Linked DNA regions of Homo sapiens: region 2 is linked to region 1. Evidence: promoter capture Hi-C in human tissues and cell types (Jung and others, 2019). All regions are on one chromosome and are shown on one strand. Each heading gives the region's core, a stretch centred on a gene start or on the middle of the fragment in contact. The rest is flanking DNA. Distances are from core to core; before and after follow the strand shown.

The links. The method cuts DNA at HindIII sites, captures the fragments that hold promoters and counts their contacts. A contact is called where the count stands out against the background at its distance.
Region 2: a contact is called between a fragment that was not itself captured here and the fragment with the promoter of DMRTB1 in region 1, in 1 of the 25 tissues and cell types used here (aorta).

What each region holds. Positions count from the first base shown.
Region 1 is chr1:53,457,872-53,462,133 of GRCh38, forward strand. It overlaps DMRTB1 (DMRT like family B with proline rich C-terminal 1), which reads left to right and starts at 1,528. Exons shown (of 4, transcript NM_033067.3): 1 at 1,528-2,159; 2 at 3,602-3,774. The coding sequence starts at 1,583. The HindIII fragment of the contact is 5,631 bases long and covers 1-4,043 here.
Region 2 is chr1:53,406,930-53,411,711 of GRCh38, forward strand. No RefSeq gene overlaps it. Among named protein-coding and RNA genes, the nearest start is that of LINC02812, 41 kb to the left of the region's middle. RefSeq lists an enhancer at 1,543-2,138. The HindIII fragment of the contact is 6,842 bases long and covers 1-4,782 here.

The DNA.
Region 1 (4,262 bases), core at 278-2,777:
AAAGAAAGAGCAATGAAAAATGCACAAGTTTTAGCCACATATTAACTGTAACTACCTCCTTAAATGCGACTGATCTAATTAGAAGCTTTTCAGCTTGTTAGTGGCCCATTTTTTCCTTTTTTTGGACAAAGAAGGGAGGAGAGGGGAGGGGAGGGAAATGGAGGCAGTGGGGTGGTGGGGGGGAGGGGCGGGAGAGAGAGACAGAGAGAGAGAGAGAGAGAGAGAGAGAGAGAGAGAGATGCCTCAGGGTGTCACAAATTTGTTTTTAAAAAATGAATTAATGGCCGGACGCGGTGGCTCACGCCCGTAATCCCAGCACATTGGGAGGCCGAGGCCGGTGGATCACCTGAGATCGGGAGTTCAAGACCAGCCTGGCCAACATGGCGAAAACCCCGTCTCTACTAAAAATACAAAAATTAGCTGGGCATGGTGGCGGGCGCCTGTAATCCAAGCTACTCAGGAGGCTGAGGCAGGAGAATCGCTTGAACCTGGGAGGCGGAGGTTGCAGTGAGCCAAGATCCTGCCACTGCACTACAGCCTGGGTGACAAAGCAAGACTCTGTCTCAAAAAAAAAAAAAAAAACAAAAAAAAACAATTAATGCCCTCGGGTAAACTATGACGTTTGTGCTAACTTTTCAGATGTCCCAAGATTTGGGTTGTTTTACAAGGATAACGAAGTTCATGATGAGGTTAAGCAATCACTGAAGCTAGTGCTAGAAATTTTTTTTAATTTAATTTTTTAGAAAGAGGGGTCTTGCAGAATTTTTTATTTAATTTTTTAGAAAGAGGAGTCTCGCTATGTTGCTCAGGTTGGTCTCCAACTACTGGGCTCAAGTGATCCTCACGAGTAGCTAGGGCTACAGGCACAGGACACTATGCCAGGCTTAGTGCTACAATATTCTGTCTATTTTACTTTAAAATATTCTAAGTATGCTCACTTTGGAAGGCATCAACATCCAGAAATGCATTCCTACATCAAGACTCTCAAGAAACGGGAATTACTGTAAGGGCATACCCTTGAGCAACCATCACACTGCACTGAACTCTTGAGAATATTCTGGAATATCCTGGAAGCATCTCTGCAGGGCAGAGAAGTGAACTGCCACAGAAGGAGCAGCTTTGGGGAGAAGAAATACAGTTTGCCTCTTACAGTATTTTTCTACACCGAGAGCTACATTCCTCCCGAGTTTTAAATTTGTGGACCGTTGAATATCACTCCGCCTTTCATAAAGTTACAAATACCTTCCGTCGGTGGCGGGAACAGAGTTTGGAAAATTACATGCCTAAGACTTCAGATAAGCTAAATGACATACATGCAATAGCATCCCATGAAGAATTTATTCAACCCAATCCATTGCATCTAATTACCCAAAGCACAGAAACTCTCCAAACTGTGCACCCCCCAAAAGGAGGGAAAATGCAAGGTTCCTGCTGCAGTTCCCGGGACACACTGCGAGCCGCTTTGTTACAAGTGTATCCAATGTCCCCAGAACGAGGGACTTGTGGGGCGCGGCTCATCCCAGCGCCACTTGCTCTGCAGCTCCCAGAGGTGGTGGTTGTGTTACGAAGGCTGACCCTGCCAATGGCCGACAAAATGGTGCGCACCCCCAAGTGCTCGAGATGCAGGAACCATGGCTTCCTGGTGCCCGTCAAGGGACACGCGGGCAAATGCCGCTGGAAGCAGTGCCTCTGCGAGAAGTGCTACCTGATCTCCGAGCGCCAGAAGATCATGGCCGCGCAGAAGGTGCTCAAGACGCAGGCCGCCGAGGAGGAGCAGGAGGCGGCCCTGTGTGCGCAGGGGCCCAAGCAGGCCTCCGGGGCTGCGGCCGCCGCCCCCGCCCCCGTCCCCGTCCCGGCCGCGAGCCTCCGCCCGCTGTCCCCGGGGACTCCCTCCGGAGACGCCGACCCGGGACCCGAGGGCCGCGCGGCCGCTTGCTTCTTCGAGCAGCCCCCGCGGGGCCGGAACCCCGGCCCGAGAGCCCTCCAGCCGGTTCTGGGCGGCCGCAGCCACGTGGAGCCGAGCGAGCGAGCCGCCGTGGCGATGCCCAGCCTTGCGGGACCCCCTTTTGGGGCGGAGGCCGCAGGCAGTGGCTACCCTGGCCCCCTAGACCTGCGCAGGCCGATGCGGACCGTGCCCGGCCCACTGTTCACCGACTTTGGTAAGTCGTGGCCTTGGTCCCGCGGTCGACTCCCGGAGCTGGCAGCCCAGGCCAGCCCGGATGGGGAGCTGGCATAGGGGTTCGGGGTGGAGAGAAGTTTTTCCACGGGTAACGGACCTTCCGCTTTGAGAAACCCTTCTTCGAACAGGGATTTGGATTGGGTAACTTTTCGCAAAAAGGAAACGAGAAACAGAAAGGAATGGGCGGTTCAGAGGGCTTTTAACATTTAGCTGTAGTTTGTGCCATTCCGGCATGCAAGAACAAAATGGCGTCCAGTCGACTTAGCAGTGCTTCCTCCTCCGGGGGAGGCTTCGAGGAGCCGAGTCCTACTGCTCTTGCGCACCTCTTCCCGCCATTTCCTTGGGCTGGAGGCTCCTCCTCCAGAATAACAGAATTTTCCTGCCGGCACGTTAGCGCAAGGACGCCTGCGCACTCTTCCCTCCCGGTTCGCGGTCGGGAGGCTCCTCCCCTCAGCTCCGCCCTGGCCCAGTGCGCCTGCGCACCTCTTCCCTCCGTTTCCCCACGTGCAGGTGAGGGGAGCCTGCTTCTTTACTCCACACACGAGAACAGTTGGTCAGTAAAGATGTTGCCTTTCTTTTCTCCCTTCACCTTGTACATAAATTACATTGTTCCCTGTGCCTTGGAGCTTTTGGTATTGAAGTAGTTTCAAGTCACATGTACATTTGAAGCTTTAGAAGCCCCGGGGTTTGGTGCGGACGCGTTTTCCTGGTGTCTCCCCCGTGGTGGTGTGGTGGGACGGGCTCAGGCCGAGGCGGGGGCCCGGGTCACGCTGGACAAGCTCCTGCCCTCTGTGTGCCAGGGCACTGGTCCGGAGGCTCCCGCAGGCTCGTCCCGCCCCCCTGACTTTCCAGGAAAATCTAGGTCCCCAGGGAACGTCCCATCTGACAGGGTCACAGGCCTGAAACTGCAGATCTAGGAGAAGCCACCTTTCTTTTTTCCATCTCAACAGACAAGCAGGGCTGAGCCGAACCATGAGCCAGGCATTCGTGATGGAGGACGCGGGTCACATTTCTTGCCCTCAAGGACCTTGTCCTTGTGGGAGGGACAGGGTTGATCAAAGAGTCACACAAATCAGTGTCCAGGGCTTGAGCCATGGCCGGGTTCACTGTGACCCGGAGGAGGAGGAGGAGCTCGGCACTGAGGCCTCAGAGAGGCAGAGTGCGGGCTGACGGTGTGTGGGGCAGCGGGGAGGTCTGGAGGCGGCCCCGGCCCACAGCGGGCTTGATGGCCGTGCTGAGGACTTTCCAAGAGCAGTGGGGCTGGCTGGAGGATGGAGATGCAGTGAGGGCCCAGCGGAAGGAAGTGCGGGGTGGGCTTTCTGTGCTTGGACGGCAGCGCTGATGACCCCGCCGCCCTGGGCCGCCCTGCGGATGCTTTTCCCAGCGGTGTCTAACACTTCCCTCCTTGCTTGCGTTCTTTAGTGCGCCCTCTGAACATCAACCCGGACCGTGCACTGGGCCCTGAGTACCCTGGTGGCTCCAGCATGCACCCCTACTGCCCGTTCCCGCTGGGCTACCTGGACGCCCCTCCTGGCGTCCCCCTGCAGCAGGGCTTCCGGCATGTGTCCCGCAGCCAGTACCAAGGCGGAGGCTTGGTGAGTCCCACCCCTCACTTCTTGCCAGCTTCCTCCACCCAGTCTGCCCCTGCTGCCTTGATGGATCCTCAGTCCCAGGAAGCCAGCTGTCATAAACTGTGCCCACGCCATGCCAGCCCCCGAGTGCTGGTGGAGGACTAGGCACTGCCCAGGCACAGTGTGTGTGTCTCTGGGAGCACACGTGTGGACCAGTCTGCACCACTCGGCTTGGGCTATGGCCTGTGCTTTTCAGGGCAGTGGGCTGAAAGGCTCTGAGCGTTCAGGATGACCCCTTCCTTGACTGATGCTGATGCTAGAAGGGCCCTTCATTTTGCTGGACTCCAGAAAGGGCATATCACCTTCCTGGGACCACAAAATTTAGGGCAGAGCCAGGACCAGAGGTAGGCTCCCTGCCCACAGGTATAGCACACTTGAGACTGCAGAGGGCTTTCAGGAGGAGGTGGCATTTGAGCGGAGTCATGAAAAATACGGAAACCTTCCCCCAAACA
Region 2 (4,782 bases), core at 1,426-3,925, 50 kb before region 1:
GGGGATAGCCCCAGGAGGTGCTGATGCATGAGCCGGGTCTGGAAGGATGGAGAGGAGTGGGTCAGCTGAAGAGGGGGCTTGGAGGGGAGGAAGGTCTTCCAGGCAGAGGAACCTGCATGTTTCATGGCAGAGAATTAGGAGAGGGCCGAGGGAAGCTGGAGGGGTGAGAGTGGGGAGGACCTAAGTCAGAGTGGTCATGGAGACCAGATGACAGAGGGCCATGGGTGTACTGCTAAAGTCAGGGGCAGACCCCACTCAGGAGGCTAGGGGAGTCCTGAGGGTCTTGGGTAAGGATGATTGTCTGACCTTGGACAGATATGCAATCCAGCCTAGAGGGAGGACTGGGGGAGGAGGCCAGGCTGGGGGCAGGGTGCCTGAACCAAGGTGAGGATGGCCATGGGAAGAGAGAAGGAATCCTGTGCAGAAGAGGGAATAGACAGCCTGTGGGGAGGGAGGGGGAACCAAGGATGACTCCCAGGTCTCAAATCGGCACAGGAAGGTGGTTTGTGGTGCCAGCAGCTTAGCCTGGGAACACAGCGGAGAAACAGCTGAGCAGTGGTAGAGATTCCCCAGGGAAGGCTAGAGAGGATGAGGATGGGGAGACTGAGGCTGGACCCCCTGCCAGTGCCTGGCAGGAAAGGTGATATAGTTTGGAAATCCGTCCCCTCCAAATCTCCTGTGGAAATTTGATGCCCAGTATTGGAGGTGGGGCCTGGCGGCAGGAGTTTGGGTTATCGGAGTGGATCCCTCTTGAATCGCTTTGCAGTGTCCTTGCTGTAATGAATGAGTGCTCGCTGTATGAGTTTACCTGGAGGTCTGGTTGTTTAAAAGATCCCTTCTCTGTTTCCTTCTCTCTAACCAGGTGATACCTGCTCCCTTCACCTTCTGCTGTGAGTGGAAGCTCCCTGAAGCTCTCACCAGAAGCAGATGCTGGCACCATGCTTCTTGTACAGTTTGAGGAACCATGAGTTAAATAAACCTCTTTTCTTTATAAATCACCCAGCCTTGACTATTCCTTCATAGAAATGGAAGCAGACTAAGACAGAGGGAGATAGAGATGGTGTAGGTGCAGAAGAGAAGCTGGGAGAGCAAGGTGGGGAGGAGGAATGCATCTCTGTAGTCCCCATGGAGTGAGGGCCAAAGTCACTTGCTGAGGGGAGTGGGCAGGGGTTTGAGAGGGGAGTGAGGGTTGAATGGAGGTTGGGTGGAACAGGGAGATGACAGTTCTGAACAGTCTGGCAGTGCTGAGAACCCAGTGGCACTCAGTAGCCTGGGTAGGCATGGAGAAGGTGAGGCCATCAGACTGTCCCTGGGTAGGGTTTGCTGGGTGGGTGAGAGGCAAAACTGGGGCAGTGTCGGGGCGGAGTCTGGGCCCATGAGGAAAGGAGGGTGGGAGGCAGGACAGACTCACAGGCTATAAATTTTGCAGAATCTGAAGAAAGTCACAAATGAGACTCATCCCTTAAGTCTCCAGACAGTAACTATGGTGCCAGGATGACTCAGGCCCAATCTTTTTGGGGCTTCCCAGTCAACAGTAGCCTGACCCTAAAAGAGCTGCTCTAAGCATGGGCCCTGTACAGGGAACTGTGGAACAGTGGGCCTGTGAGGCAAGGTCCCTGGCCTGCACTACCCACCTGCCTTCCCGGGCAAGGCTGATGTGCTGCTGAGAGCTAGGTGACCCTATGAGGGGGCTAAGGGACCCCACTAGGGAGCTAGGTGACCCCAAAAGGGGGCCAGGGTACCCCACGAGGGAGCTAGTGGACCCCATGAGGGGGCTAAGGGACCCCACAAGGGGGCTAGGTGACCCCACGAGGGAGCTAGGCGACCCCATGGGGGAGCTAGGGGACCCCACAAGGGGGCTAGGTGACCCCATGAGGGGGCTAGGGGACCCCACGAGGGGGCTAGGTGGCCCCACGAGGGAGCTAGGGGACCCCACGAGGGAGCTAGGGAACCCCACGAGGGGGCTAAGGGACCCCATGAGGGAGCTAGGGGACCTCATGAGGGGGCTAGGTGAGCCCATGAGGAAGCTAGGGGACCCCAAACAGGGGGCTAGGGAATACCCTGAGGGAGCTAGGGGACCTCATGAGGGGGCTAAGGGACCCCACGAGGGAGCTAGGGGACCTCATGAGGGGGCTAGGGAATCCCCTGAGGGAGCTAGGGAACCCCACGAGGGGGCTAAAGGACCCCACGAGGGAGCTAGGGGACCTCATGAGGGGGCTAGGTGACCCCATGAGGGAGCTAGGGGACCCCAAACAGGGGGCTAGGGAATCCCCTGAGGGAGCTAGGGGACCTCATGAGAGGGCTAAGGGACCCCACGAGGGAGCTAGGGGACCTCATGAGGGGGCTAGGGAATCCCCTGAGGGAGCTAGGGTACCCCATGCAGGGGGCTATGGGACTCCACACAGGGGGCTAGGAGACCCCACAAGGGGGCTAGAGGACCCCACGAGAGGGCTACGTGACCCTATGAGGGGACTAGGGGACCCCACGAGGAGGCTAGGTGACCCCAGGAGTGGACTAGGTAACCCCAAGATGGGGCATAGGCTCTGCTGCAGGTCCCAGCTGGGAGTTTGAAGGCCGCTGGAGAGCTCACCTAAAGGAGAAATCCCCGTGCATTTGGGAGTCGGGGAAGGCCCCTCTCCCTAGTGACTTGTCTCTGTTTCTGATCTCTGTAGTCTCTGAAATGCCACATGGCTGGTCTTTTTAAAGATCCTGCCAACAAACAGAATCTAGTAAGGAGGACACCTGGAGCGTGCTGGCTGCCATGTCTGGTGCTCCCATGTGCTGCTTCTGTGCTGCATAATCACCTCTAAAGGTGAGCGCTGCCCTTCTCACCAGGCTGGGGAGAGGCTAGGGAGCTTGCCTGAGTGGCCGTGCTGGAATCTGAACCCACAACTGTCTGACCCTAGATCTGTGTTTGCCGAACAGGGAGACGCAGGGACCCCAGGAGACTCTCATAAGTCCTGTCGGGGCAGAAAAACACTGCTGCAGTTGGGCCACAGAGGTTTCAATGCAGGCACCAGATGCGTAACTCAGCCCTGATGTACCAGGTGTTAGGCTGGTTGGGCTTGGGGCCAGCACATGTAGCTACCCTCAAGGAACTTCCAGCATGAGAGGCAACCTCAGAGAAGTTTTCAGGAAACTGCTTTTATGGGGTTTAGACCCTTGGGAGAGGTGGCCCCCTAAACAACCTTCCAGTCGCTGGTAGAATGCTGCTTTTGTGCAGAAACATGCCCCAGGCAGATGCTCCGCTCTGTGACAGCATCTCTGCTGTTTGGCCATGCACACATCTGCCCACCCACTCTGCCGCTGACAACAGGATATGACAGATCTATGCTGGAGGGAATGTGAGACCGACAGGTCCCGGAGGAGACGAGGCACTCACGGTGGGGGCTGCTCCGCTCCTCCCGCTGGCCCCCTAGTGCTGCAGCTTGGGGACTTCCATCTGTGGCCGGCCGTGTCACTCCTTTCTAACCCAGCCTGGCAGGTGCTTTTGCTGAGGGGCTGTAGGATGAGGGTCTGTGTGCAATGCTGATTCATTTTTGTGGCAGGAGATTGATGAGATGTTTGAGGGTGACTGGACGCACTCCCTGGCTGCCTTCAGGAAAGGATCAAGCTGGTGGGAATGAATTCAATCGCTCCGACTTAGCAAAAGGTGTCTTGAGGCCTTTCCCTTCCTTTTTGCATCACTACTGGAGTCTTAAATCCTAAATTACTTTTCATTCGAAACAGATTTATTTTTAAAGTATTGGCCCATTGTCATTTCAAAAACTTTATTCACCATTGCATTTAAGGAGTTTGCCAGCTTCCTTCCAGCCGCAACTTTGGACTGCAGAAGATCTAGTGTGTTGCAAACCACCAGTTTTTGTTTTTAGAAGGACGGGTTTAATGTTCAGACTTTATCTAATTATGGATAATTATGATGTCTTGCTGAGAATTCACAGTGGGATATGGGCTCTGCAGAATAAGACAAACTGACTAACACGGTTCCCGCCTGGTCGATTTTGAGTCTAAATAGTCACATTTAGATTTCAGTAATGGCGTGGAACATGAAGAATTCTCTCACGCTGCGTGTGTGTGTGTGTGGCTGGTGGGGGAGAGCAGGGAGGAGTGTCACTAAAATGAAGGCTAAGCAAAAAAGTCCTTTCCTAGGCTGGCTGGTGGGCTTGGGGCCAGCACATGTAGCTACCCTCAAGGAACTTCCAGCATTAGAGGCAACCTTAGAGAAGTTTTCAGGAAACTGCTTTTATGGGGTTTAGACCCTTGGGAGAGGTGGCCCCCTAAACAACCTTCCAGTCGCTGGTAGAATGCTGCTTTTGTGCAGAAACATGCCCCAGGCAGATGCTCCGCTCTGTAACAGCATCTCTGCCATCTGGCCATGCACACAAAAAAGTGGAGGTAATCAATAATCTAAAAGGAGGTAAGAAAAGGAGAAATAAATTAATGAAAGGACTTAAAAAAAAACCTGAAAATGAGGCTTTGTTCATAACATGAGCAAAAAAGAACGTAAATCCTTCAATAAATGCTGCAACCACCGGCGTCGCAGGCCCCTGACTCTCATTCCTTAATGCAGCAAATATCGATCAGGTGCCCACTGTGTGCCAGATTCCACGCATGGCAATCTTTTTAAATCAGTAAACACCCCTACATGTCCAATTCTGTTGTTGTACATGTTACAATCACTGATTGATGACACTTTAAAAAAAAAAAAAAACTACAAACCTTAGGTCTGTAAAGGTTAGTATGCTTTTTCACTGAGTGACTCAAATCCTGAAGCACGCCCTG